Regions from separate parts of the Homo sapiens genome. Here region 1 is linked to region 2. Evidence: promoter capture Hi-C in 16 types of primary human blood cells and fetal thymus (Javierre and others, 2016). All regions are on one chromosome and are shown on one strand. Each heading gives the region's core, a stretch centred on a gene start or on the middle of the fragment in contact. The rest is flanking DNA. Distances are from core to core; before and after follow the strand shown.

Evidence for each region. The method cuts DNA at HindIII sites, captures the fragments that hold promoters and counts their contacts. A CHiCAGO score of 5 or more calls a contact.
Region 1: a contact is called between a fragment that was not itself captured here and the fragment with the promoter of ZNF639 in region 2, in 1 of 17 cell types (fetal thymus). The highest score is 7.3, in fetal thymus.

The regions. Positions count from the first base shown.
Region 1 is chr3:177,354,376-177,360,170 of GRCh38, forward strand. No RefSeq gene overlaps it. Among named protein-coding and RNA genes, the nearest start is that of LINC00501, 63 kb to the left of the region's middle. RefSeq lists enhancers at 3,740-3,939, 4,060-4,299, 4,186-4,480, 5,154-5,795, 5,506-5,795. The HindIII fragment of the contact is 2,538 bases long and covers 2,886-5,423 here.
Region 2 is chr3:179,320,447-179,326,945 of GRCh38, forward strand. ZNF639 (zinc finger protein 639) reads left to right here and starts at 2,585. Exons shown (of 6, transcript NM_001303426.2): 1 at 2,585-2,845. RefSeq lists silencers at 2,315-2,754, 2,785-2,924 and enhancers at 3,495-3,544, 4,586-4,685. The HindIII fragment of the contact is 4,241 bases long and covers 1-3,680 here.

The sequences.
Region 1 (5,795 bases), core at 2,905-5,404, 2.0 Mb before region 2:
AAAAGGGAGAAGAGGAATGAACACAGTGAGCCTAGATAACCCTTCAGAGCATTGCTTAGCTACAGAGGGAGCAGAGTAATGAGGCAGTAGCTGGAGGGACAGGGGGGTCAAGAGAGACTTCCCTGAACACACACCTTTGTGCCTTTCTGAGATGCGTTTCTCCTCATTCACCTGGTGAACTTCCACTTTTTCTTGAGGAGTTAACTTAGGCATATCTGTACTGACCTTTCGCTACTATCTGCACTGATTAATCAAAAAGGACTTACTGTGTACCTATTATGAAATAGACTCTAGTCAATGAACTCATTAATGAACAAGGAGCAAGCCTGATACGATATCTGCGTTCCTGGAGATTATGTTCCAATGGGAAGACAGAGAAGACAGAAATAAATAAATAAAATAACTGATTACTACAGATCATGGTGAGTGTGTGCTGGCCATAAACTGAGTGGTGTGATAGAATGTAACATGTAGTGGTCATGGAAGACCTCTCTAGGGGGTTGATCACTGAACTGAAACCTGAAGGATACTGCCATGGAATGAACGTTTGTGTCCCCGCCAGATTCCTGTGTTGAAGCCCTAATCCCCAACGTGATGGTATTTGGAGGTGGGGTCTTTGGGAGGTGATCAGATCATGAGGGTGGCAGTCTCATGAATAGGATTAGTGCCTTTATAAGAACAGACATGGCCGGGTGTGGTGGCTCATGCCTGTAATCTCAGCACTTTGGGAGGCCGAGGTGGGCAGATCATGAGGTCAAGAGATCGAGACCAGTCTGGCTAACACGGTGAAACCCCGTCTCCACTAAAAATACAAAAATTAGCTGGGCGTGGTGGCGGTGCCTGTAGACCCAGCTACTTGGAGGCTGAGGCAGGAGAATCGCTTGAACCCGGGAGGTAGAGGTTGCAGTGAGCTGAGATCACGCCACTGCACTCCAACCTGGTGACACAGCAAGACTCCGTTTCAAAAAAAAAAAGAAGAGACATGAGGCCTGGTGTGTTGGCTCATGCCTATGCCTGTAATCCCAGCACTTTGTAAGGCTGAGATGGGTGGATCACGAGGTCAGGAGTTTGAGACCAGCCTGGCCAACATGGTGAACCCCATCTCTACTAAAAATACAAAAATTAGCCAGGTGTGGTGGCAGGTGCCTGTAATCCCAGCTACTCAGGAGGCTGAGGCAGGAGAATCACTTGAATCCTGGAGGTGGAGGTTGTAGCGAGCCGAGATCACTGCATTGCGCTCCATCCTGGGCAATAGAGTGAGACTCCGTCTCAAAAATAAATAAATAAGAGACATGAGAAAGATGATTTCTCTCTCTACTACGTGAGGATATAGCAAGAAGGTGTTCACCTGCAAACCAAGAAGAAGGTTCTCACCGGGAACTGAATTTGCCAGCCCTGTGACCTTGGACTTCCTAGCCTCTAGAACTGTGAGAAATAAATGTGTTATTTAAGCCACCCTGTCTATGGTTGTGTCAGGCTGTTTTTGCATTGCTATAAAGAAATACCTGAGGCTGGGTAAATTATATAGAAAAGAGGTTTAATTGGGGCATCGTTTTGAGACAGTACAGGATATGTGGTGCTGGCATCTGCTTCTGGGGAGGCCTCAGGAAGCCTACAATCATGGAGGAAGGTGAAGGGGAGCAGGCACGTCACATGGTGAGAGCAGGAGCAAGAGAGAGTGCAGGGAGGTGCCACACACTTTTAAACAACCAGGTCTCATGAGAACTTATTATTGTGAGAATAGCACCAAGAAATTCATGAGTGATCGGCCCCAAACACCTCCCATCAGGCCCCGCCTCCAACACTGGTGGATTACAATTCAACATGAGAGTTGGAGGAGACAAACATCCAAATTGTATCAATGGTATTTTTTGTTATAGCAGCCTGAACGATCTAAGACAGATATAGAGAAGACAGATATAGAGGAGCCAGCTTAGGAAGGGCCAGAGAGTCTTCCAGGCAGAGGGAACCAACTCTAAGAGCAGAGGCCTTAAGATAGGAAGAAGTAAAGTGGTGAAAGAAAAGGGTCTCATGTGGCAGGGGTGGCCTGAGCTAGGAGAAGGTGGAGGGAATGAATAAAAGGAGGAAATGACCTAAGGCATAGGAGGCCTAGACAAGGAGTTTGAGTAGTGCTCTCAGTGTAGTGGGATTTTGGCAGAGGTTACTGCCCCTGAGCAGAGGAGAGATGCAGATGTCTTTGTTGCATGGTGGCAGTATAGATGGAGAAGGGCATGCATACAGACAATTTTGGAGGGAAACCAGCTGATGGATTGGGTGTAGTGAATGACAGAAAAGAAAAAATCAGGGCTGGGCATGGTGGCTCAAGCCTGTAATCCCAGCACTTTGGGAGGCCGAGGTGGGCAGATCACCTGAGGTCAAGAGTTTGAGACTAGCCTAGCCAACCTGGTGACACCCCATCTTTACTAAAAATACAAAAATGAGCTGGATGTGGTGGTGGACGCCTGTAATCCCAGCTACTGAGGAGGCTGAGGCATTAGAATCCTTGAACCCAGGAGGCGGAGGCTACATTGAACCAAGATCATGCCACTGCACTCCAGCCTGGGCAACTGAGCGAGATTCTGTCTCAAAAAGAAAAAAAAAAAAATCAGGAATTGTCTCTGGGGCATGAGCAGCCAGCTGGATGTGGTACCATTATCTGGAAGTGAGATATCTAGAAAGAGGGAGAATGTAAGGCATAAGGATAAGAGAAAAAGTGGGGGTGGGAAATAGACACTGCTTGGAAAACAAAGTAACATCAGGGAGGTCTGGAAATAAAATGTTTCAAGTAGTTGGAAAGTCAACCAGATAAAATGCTGCTGAGAGACAGCAAGGGGTGCAGACTGAGAAATCATTAGTCTTAGCACTTACTCTTCCATAACCCTCAAAGCTTGTCTAACAGTGATTCTTTTCTGCCTTTCTCCTTCATTATATGATAAATTGCTAGAGGGTTTAGACCTCCTTTTAAATTCACCTTTATCTCTCTGGGCTCAACAGGGTGCCTTAGGAACAGGGTAGACTGCACAGTTCCTGACTGAAAATAACACTGGCAAGGAAACACCCCAAGGTGCTATCAGCTGCCAGATGCCAGAAGGAAATGGAAGGGCCTGGACTGCTCCCTAAAGAGCCTGACCCAGAAGCGGTGTGTAACAGGTTCCACTCAATGCCTTATAGGCTGAAAATTGCTCTGTCTTCTCAGAGCTAGAAAGGGTGTTCAGATAAGGCAGGGTGGGACCCTGACTCATGGACACACAATTAGCCGGCTTTTGTCTTTGAATCTGACTGGAAGTGACTCATGAGCTGGAAAAAAACCCTTTGGAAACAAATGAAGGGGGAAAAAAGGAGGGTAAGCCACGACTGCATTTTACTCTGTTAAAATGCAGATCTGCTGTCCTATAAATGTAGAATACTGTACATTTCCTCAGCCTCCCTCCAACAAAGACCCAGGGGAAATTATTAAGCCTGACAATTCACTCATTTTCTCCAAGATTTTTATTAAATGCAATTTAGAGGGGATAAAGTTTCTTCTCTTTTCTCTTTCTATTCACTTGAATAAGCCCTAATTACCACTAGGGTACAATAAATGGGCTTCTAGAAGTCTGTGGCAATTGGCGATGCTTCCCCTTTAAATTAACCAGTTGAAGCCTCCAGTTTCAACAGCCACCAGGGCACTTCCCGTCCACTCACAACTTGCTCAGTGCAATCTGAAGAGCATTTATTGAGCACCTTGTTATGGGGCACTGACATATGCTGCGGAGGATAGAAGACTTCTCGGGGGGTTATAATGGGGCTGGGGAGCTCTTGAACTCAACTGACATACTGTGTAAGTTAAACTAGTAAATGCCATGGGATTTTTGGATTAGAAGCAACAAAAACACAAACTAGGTTAAACAATAAGAATTTGTGGCAAAAAATAATGGGCTGTCGCAAGGAATCGGGGGCAGGCAGGGCTGTACCAGGGACACAGGAACCGATGCTGCCAATAACATTAGACTCCTGTTGGCCTCAGCGCTCTCTCCCAGCCTGTCTGGCTGTGGCTGAGGCTCTATCTTTGTTTTCTGCTCGATCTTTATCTCTGTTTCTGCCTTCAGATTGGCCTTGCCTCTCCTCTCCTGACCATGGGAAACATGGTCATGTATGTTATAATATCTTGCAGTTTTAGCCCTGGGGAGAAACTGACTTTTTCACTTCCAGTTTCAAAATTTCCCAAGAAGGCTTTTGATTGGATTCAAATATGTCAGCTCTTCCCGCTGGGACCAATCCCCTGTGGCAAGGTGGGGGAGGGAAATTTGAGAAGGGCCGTGAATGGTCCAGCTTAGGTCAGAGGTACAGTTTCCACGTCCCCACCCCCACCCCCGCCCCGTCAACAAAACAGCTCTGCCCTGTAAGCCTGTGGGTGTGGGTGAAGGTGGAAGTGGGTCGGAAGAGGCTGCGGGCTCCACTTTGCCAGGAGTGTAGGGGGAAGGGCTGAGTTGAGGAAACAATGGGTCTAGCACTTCTGCTGACCTTGTTTTCAGAAACAACCACAGGGCCTCTGGCCCCAGTGGAACTTGACTCATAAAGGCGAGAGACTTGACTATTGAAAAAGGTCTCCTATGAAATCTGAATTTCACTTAATCCTCAGAACAACTGTTGAGGGGGTTGTTACTACTCCCATTTTAAGACGCGGGCTGTAGAGAGGGTAACCACCCTGTCCACATTCACACAGCGAACACGTGGTGGGGCAGGGCTCAAGTCCAGGCGATTCCAAAGTCCCCCCGTGCTGTTTGCGCCACGCGGTGCTCCCACCAAGCCCACTCCGCGGGGAGAAAAACCATAGGCCTCGGAGGAGGAGCGGCTCCTCGCAGTGGGGTGGGGCAGAGGCCAGCATGAGGCCTTGTTCACTGGAGGATTCCACAGGCCTGGAACGGAAAGAATGAGAGCTCTGCAGGCAGGCAGAGCCCAGGGCGCCCAGTGCCCCCAGGCTGCGACAGCCAAGTCGGTGGGCGCGCATGGCGGGGCTTGAAGGAAAGGTCCAGAGCCGGTGGGAAAGGCCACGCCCCGGGGTAGAGCGCTTCCTTCCAGATCCCGGCCTTTAACTGCAATTCCGTTTTAAGGGCAACCCTGCCCGGTTCACACCTAGCCTTGAAGATGACAGATTGCACTGTGAGCAATTTGCAGGGTGAGAACGGGAGCCTACGACTCCGCACCTGCACTGCCAGAGCCATAAATGCAGCAAATCATGGCCTATAAAATGTCACCACTGCTGAAGTGCAATTTTCCAGGGGTCTTCTGCAGAGGGAACTCCACCACGGAGAGCGACCCTCGGCTCTGCAGCCTAAGAGGAAGGCCCCTGCAGGGTGGGGGAGGGAACAGGGAGGTCTTCCTCCCCATCCCCTTCGTGCCACTGCTCCCCCCTTTGTGACCCCACTCTGCCACGTGGTAAAAGCTTCCGGGGGGAGGCATTAGTTATTTCTGTCTGAGGAGTTTTTGACCAAACGTAAACATCAGAGGAGCGGGAACCCGAGCCCCGCCTGGGCTGGGCGGCAGCGACCCCGACGCCGCGGCGGCAGAGCCGGAGCTCGAAGCAGCCGCCGCTGTTGCGAGCCGCCCCTCCCCCGCCAGGCTGGCGAGCCCATTTTCGCTTGGCCGGTCTCCGCGCTGCCGGATGGATTGCGCCCCACCCCCGCTCCTCTGCTCAGTCATTCAGACTTGGAAAGTCAATAACACGCTGACATCATCAGGGGTTTGTGTATTATTACACGGCTACTTTCCAGAGTACCTGGCATTATCTAAGAGAGGAGCACTCCGGCTGCCCA
Region 2 (6,499 bases), core at 1,335-3,834:
AAATTAAAAAACAACAAACTGCAATTACGCCTGTAATCCCAGTACTTTCGGAGGCCGAGGTGGGCGGATCACCTGAGGTCAGGAGTTTGAGACCAGCCTGGCCAACATGGTGAAACCCGTCTCTACTAAAAATACAAAAATTAGCCCCGTGTGGTGCCACGCGCCTGTAATCCCAGCTACTCGGAGGATGAGGCAGGAGAATCGCTTGAATCTGGGAGGCGGAGGTTGCAGTGAGCCAAGATCACGTCATTGCACTCCAGCCTGGGCGAAAGAGCAAGACTCTGTCTCAAAAACACACAAACAAACAAACAAAAAACATAAAGAATGCTCGTGCTATACTAATTGGAAAAAAGAACCTGTTAGAAAAAAACACAGCCAATATTCTAATTTTGAAAACAAATTTTTATGTCAGTATAGGTATAAAAATAACGGAAAGATAGAAAGCAAAATGTTACCATTGATGAGCTCAGGGTTGTGAGATTATGGTAAATTTACTTTTGCTCTTTGTACTTTTCTGTTGTCTCCATTCTGTACTAAAAACGTAACTATTTTCTAATCAGGAAGAAATTAAGTGGCCGGGCGCGGTGACTCGCGCCTGTAATCCCAGCACTTTAGGAGGCCAAGGCGGGCGGATCACTTGATGCCAGAAGCTCAAGACCAGCCTGGCCAATATGGTGAAATCTCAGCACCACTAAATATACAAAAATTAGCCAGGTGTGGCAGCTCGCGCCTGTAATCTCAGCTAATCTGAAGGGTGGGGCACGAGAATTGCTTGAATTTAGGAGGTGGAGATTGCAGTGAGCCGATATCCCATCTCTGTACTGGAGCCTGGGCGACAGAGTGAGACCGTGAGAAAGAAAAAAGAAAAAAAAGAAAAGGAAGGAAGGAAAGGAAGGAGAAATTAAGCTATTCTACAAGTGTGTGAAAAAGTTGGAAGAACGATGTTTTAATAGCCCTGAATCAAATTTATAATAGTATTTAACAAACTCTACAATTTAGCACTCTTGAGATTTTAGGGTTTTATCCCAGCTATCACCCTCCCTTGGAGCGGGAGATGAGGAAAAGAGGGACCCAAAAATGAAACTGAAAAACACTCCAGCTAATCAAGAACTTGAAATTGCTTGCAATTTGTGACTATGTTAAACAACATCTAAACAAAGTCAAGCTCCTCTAAGTGCAAACAATACGTGGGATGCTGGGGAGAGTGTGCGTTTACTTTCACTACAAAATGTTTTGGAGTAAAACTTCATTTTGAAATATAAAGATTTTGTTGGACACAAGGCTATGTGGTAAGGCAAAATGGTAAGATGGTGGCATGACACCCCCTTGTGGTTTCCACCGATTCCCGGTTCTGTGCTAGATACTAACTATTCTAGGATTTAAAAATGTCTCTACATTTCTTCGAACTTTAATTCGGGCCATACTAGCATTCGTGAGCATTTATTTGAGCTGAGTACGCACATAAAACTTAGGAGGTCATAAAAACTGAGCCTCACAAACAAGTAGTGTCTCTTTCAAATATAGCTTTATCTCCTGGGGGATGGTGAAGGGATCAGAGTAAAGTCTGTGATTATTACTTTCCAGCGATTGATTGGTTGATTGGCATGTGGTTGTCAGAAAAAGCAGTGGACGTGAACAAAGAGACATCATTGCAGCCCTAACTATCCGAGTGACCTTGGGTACCTGATAATCCACATGGCTCTCAGTCATCCTCTTAACCGTTTGAACCTCAGGGGTTTAGGCTACCAAAATGAATTAAGACCCAGTCTTTAGCTTCTCACACATTTACTTTTCCATTTTGTAAAATGTGACTAAAAACCTCAACTCATTGTCAAAAGGACTGAATTAAACATATCACCACACTTGCACAGAGATCATTTATGGAACCATGTTCACAAATTTATTTATGCTCGTGTAATTTAATCATTTCTACAGCTGCTCAAAGAAAGTCAAAGTCGAGAAAGGACTTAAATCGTCGAGTCCAGTCCCCCTTAACTCCTCATTCATTCCACTATTTCTCGAGCCAAGGAATCGGGTGAAACTCAACAACGACTCGCAGTCTTCAGGTTTCACCCTCTTGCCCTGAGGGCAGCATCCTAGCCCTAGGTGGTTCTCTGGTGTGGCCTCAGTAAAACCGTGACGAGGTCCTCGGCCTCTCTGTCCCCAACAGGCGGCTGGCACACTTCGGGGTCTGAGATGCCATCTGCCTTGCCTAACCTGGGCAAGACCACTCGCGTCCTTTCCCTTGAGGAGCAGCGTGGGAAAGGTGCCGCTGCGCGCCACGTTTCTCCCAGTTCCCCAGGGCTTGAAGGGGCGGTGGAGGCGGGCGGGATAAATTCGCTGGCCGCCTGGCGTGGAGTAATCCTAGAGGGTGGGATCGCCCTCGGGGCTCGGGAGGGGCTCTTCCCCGCCCAGAAGGAGACTGCGGCGGCGCAAGGCCTCCGGCAGGGGGCGCGGGCCGCTGGGCCTCCCCCGGGGCTGCGGGCCGGTGGTCCCTCCCAGGCCGCGTGTGCGGTGCGTTCGCGCAGCCCGCTCCCTGCCCCCACCTCACCTCGTCACCTCCCCGCCCTCTCGGCGGGCCCCTGAGGTGCGCGGCGCAGGCGCGGAGCGTGGCGGCCAGGGCAGTGCGGCCGCGGAGCCTAGGCCAGGGGCCTGGCGCTCAGGGCGTGGGGCGCGCGGGGAGGGAGAGGGGTCGGCCCAGCACAGCGTCCGGGAGCGCTAGGGCCGGAGCAGCGCTGCCCGCCGCCGTGCGTCCGCGGGAAGGACCGCGCGGCCCCTCCGCCTGCGCTCTCGGCCGCCGCCGCCTCTGCGTGGGCCGGCCGGGAGGGCCTCGGGGGACTGACTGGTGAGTGTGAGGGAGGAGCGGGTGGGTCGGGCGCTGGACTGCTCCAGGGGACGCGGGCGTGCGGGCGCATCTTCTAACGGGAGAGGGCGGGAGAGACCGGAGCTCCCTTTATACGGAAACTCTGCCTTCGTTATATGGCGGGATGGCGTTCCCCTCCCCCATCCCGAAGGCAGTTCCACCCCCTGCGCAGGACGCCTTGGCCGGGCTCCCCTCGGCCCCCTGCTGCCGTTGTCTTTACGGAACCTTTGGTGTCGGGGCTTGGAAGTCTCCTTGGCGCCGGCTTCTGGGCCCGGGCGAAGCTGGTGCGTGGCGCCGGGGTGGAGGCGGCTAAGTCCCAGGGACTTCTGCCCTGCGCCTCCGACGGGCATTTGTCTGGCTGCGTCCGGGCTCGGGACGATCCTGGGTCCTCGCTGGCGCTGCGGCCCTGCCCGGCGGCTTCGTGACCTCCGGCGGCGAATCCCCGGGCTCGCGCAACGAGTTGTAGCCGCGGAGAGCAGGCGTCGATGCTGGCGCCCAAAGCCTCCAGCCTGAGAGTCGCCTCACTCGTGTGACGGTGCTTAGAAACCCCCTTTTTTGGTTTTGTCTTTAAGTACTGTCTAGGGAAACGAATCATTTGAAGCAGTTTATGCCTTTTTTGTTTTTTTCGAAGAGAAAGATTTATGCCGGACTGAAAAATAGCGAATCAAGTATTTAGTGACCGTGTGATATTGCAGTAAAGACTGCCTCCACGTTGGACATGTAGTGGATTCTAGTTCAGGCTCTCCTGCAACATGTTTTTGTTTCAATTCTTTTACAATTTAAAGCATATGCTTATTTTAATGAGAACGAAAAAGAAAGCTTAACTCTTTTTAAACTCGTTAAAAATGGAGTTATTTACTGTAAAGACGTCTTACAGCAATTAGGAAGAATATACATTGCATGAAAGGCCTTTTGAAACGTTTATCTATTTGATGATTGCTGACTGCCTGTTGTATGTATTCTATTTTGTGCATAGACTTTCTTGTTGGTTGAAAAAAATGACAGGTGGAAAGATGTTGGTTTCTAGGTGATATAAAAAATTTTTAAACATTTTTCTGATTTTTCTGCAGTGACACGTGTTACATATGTCGTTTGTATTTCAGAGGGAGGGGGGACTGTGATAGGTTGCTTGTGATTCAGAATCTTCCTGCTAAGAAGACTAGTGAGCAAATGTTTATGACATCCTTGAGTAGAAAGCTAAGTTTTTTCAAGGCTGTTATGCACACAAAAGGCACATAAAAATGATTGCTAAAATGAAGGATGGTTAGCATTTTTGGTCTTGAGTAGGCATCACCATTGTGCTGAAAGGAAGTCCGATAGACATTTGGTTATCGTTCGGCCCTAAGTAGGAGTCAGACCCTTCCTGATCCGTGTGCCTCCTCCTCTCACCTAACAGCCTGAATCCAGGCCAGCTTGCAACGTTGATTTTAATACCACGCTTGGTTTCCTTTTCTTACTTTTATTCTTCAAGTTGCAAAGAACTTGAGATGCATTCTGAAATAACAAGAGACTACTTAACATGTTCGGCTGAGTGTTTTCAGTGTTCTCCCTGATACTTTTAGAGTATTTAGAACATGAAGTGTGAAGCTTTGGGCTATATGAATCGTAATAGCTCTTCTCTTTTTGATTTTTGAATGCAGTGAATTGAGATGGTTACTCAAGGAATGATTGTTTACATTGTTAGGTGAGGCGTTTGATTTTATTCTTTTTTCTTTCTTTCTTTCTTTTTTAGACAGAGTTTCACTCCTGTTACCCAGGCTGGAGGACAATGATGTGATCTCGGGTCACCACAACCTCCGCCTCCCGGATTCAAGCGATTCTCATGCCTCAGCCTCCCGAGTAGCTCAGATTACAGGCATGTGCCACCACGCCCGGCTAATTTTGTATTTTCAGTCGAGACGGGGTTTCCCCATGTTGGTCAGGCTAGTCTTGAATTCCCGACCTCAGGTGATCTGTTCGCCTCGGCCTCCCAAAGTGCTGGGATTACAGGCGTGAACCACTGCACCCGGCGAGGTGAGGTATTTTATATATTGGTATCATTTCTGTACATTTCATGGTTGTCTGTTTCTTTAGGCTATTCTGTTCCCCTTCTCCCAACTGGTAGCTAAGAACTGGAAGCAAGATGTGCATGCATTTTCATCTCTGGTTCTCCCACTTATTAGTTGACTTAACTTTCACTAAGGCTGTTTCCACATCAGTAAAAATGTAAATGGGTTTGATAGTAACTCCTCCATGTACCGCACAGGACCATTTTGAAGATGAAATAGAATAAGGGTTAGGAAAATGCTTAATAAACTGAAAAGGCCGGGCGCGGTGGCTCACGCCTGTAATCCCAGCACCTTGGGAGGCCGAGGCGGGCAGATCACGAGGTCAGGAGATCGAGAACATCCTGGCTAACACGGTGAAACCCCGTCTGTACTAAAAATACAAAAAATTAGCCGGGCGCCTGTTGTCCCAGCTACTTGGGAGGCTGAGGCAGGAGAATGGCATGAACCCGGGAGGCGGAGCTTGCAGTGAGCCAAGATAGCGCCACTGCACTCCAGCCTGGGCGAAAGAGCGAGACTCTGTCCGAAAAAAAAGTAAAAATAAAATAAACTGAAAAAGCACTATCTCATTCCCTGCTGTATTATATCACTTCAGTGCTGATATACCCAGAACTTAGTGAAGCAGCAAAAATAGTATGTGCACCTCAGCTAGAACACCTGTCATGTGTATCACCTTGGTGTTAAGAGCATTATAGGCCGGGCGCGGTGCCTCGTGCCTGTAATCCCAGCACTTTGGGAGGCTGAGGTGGGCGGATCACTTGAGGTCAGGAGTTCAAGACCAGCCTGGCTAACATAGTAAACCCCCGTCTCTACTAAAAATACAAAAATTAGCTGGGTGTGCTGGCGGGTACCTGTAATCCCAGCCTCCTGCTGGCGGGCGCCCGTAATCCCGGCCACTCAGGAGGCTGAAGCAGGAGAATCGCTTGAGCTGGGGAGGCAGAGGTTGCAATGAGCCAAGATCGTGCCACTGCACTCCAGCCTGGGTGACAGAGCAAGACTCCGTTTCAAATAAATAAATAGATTAATAAATAAAGTTGGGTAAACCTTTATTCAAATCCCAACCCCAGCATTTACTGAGTATCTAGCTTTGACTTTACTGTGCCTCAGTTTCCTCAATAACAGGAACTATAATTTTGAGAGGGTGATGTGAATTTTGCATCTCATACGATTACATAGGATTAAATGAGATAAAGTATGTTCACAGCCTGGTACATAATTGGTGGTCAGTAAATTATTATTATCACTTTTACTTTTTTCTTTTTTTGTTTTGTTTTGATTTTTTGTTTTTGAGAGAGAGTCTTGCTCTGTTGCCCAGGCTGGAGTGCAGTGGCACGATGTCAGCTCACTGTAGCCCTCCGCCTCCCAGGTTCAAGCCATTCTCCTGCCTCAGCCTCTTGAGTAACTGGGATTGCAGGTGCGCACCATCACACCCGGCTGATTTTTGTATTTTTAGCAGAGACGGGATTTCACCATATTGGCCAGGCTGGTCTCGATCTTTTATTTCTTAAATAAATAATCTATAAGGGCTGTAACAGTTTAAAGTTTATAATTTGGGCCAGGCAAGGTGACTCACGCCTGTAATCCCAGCACT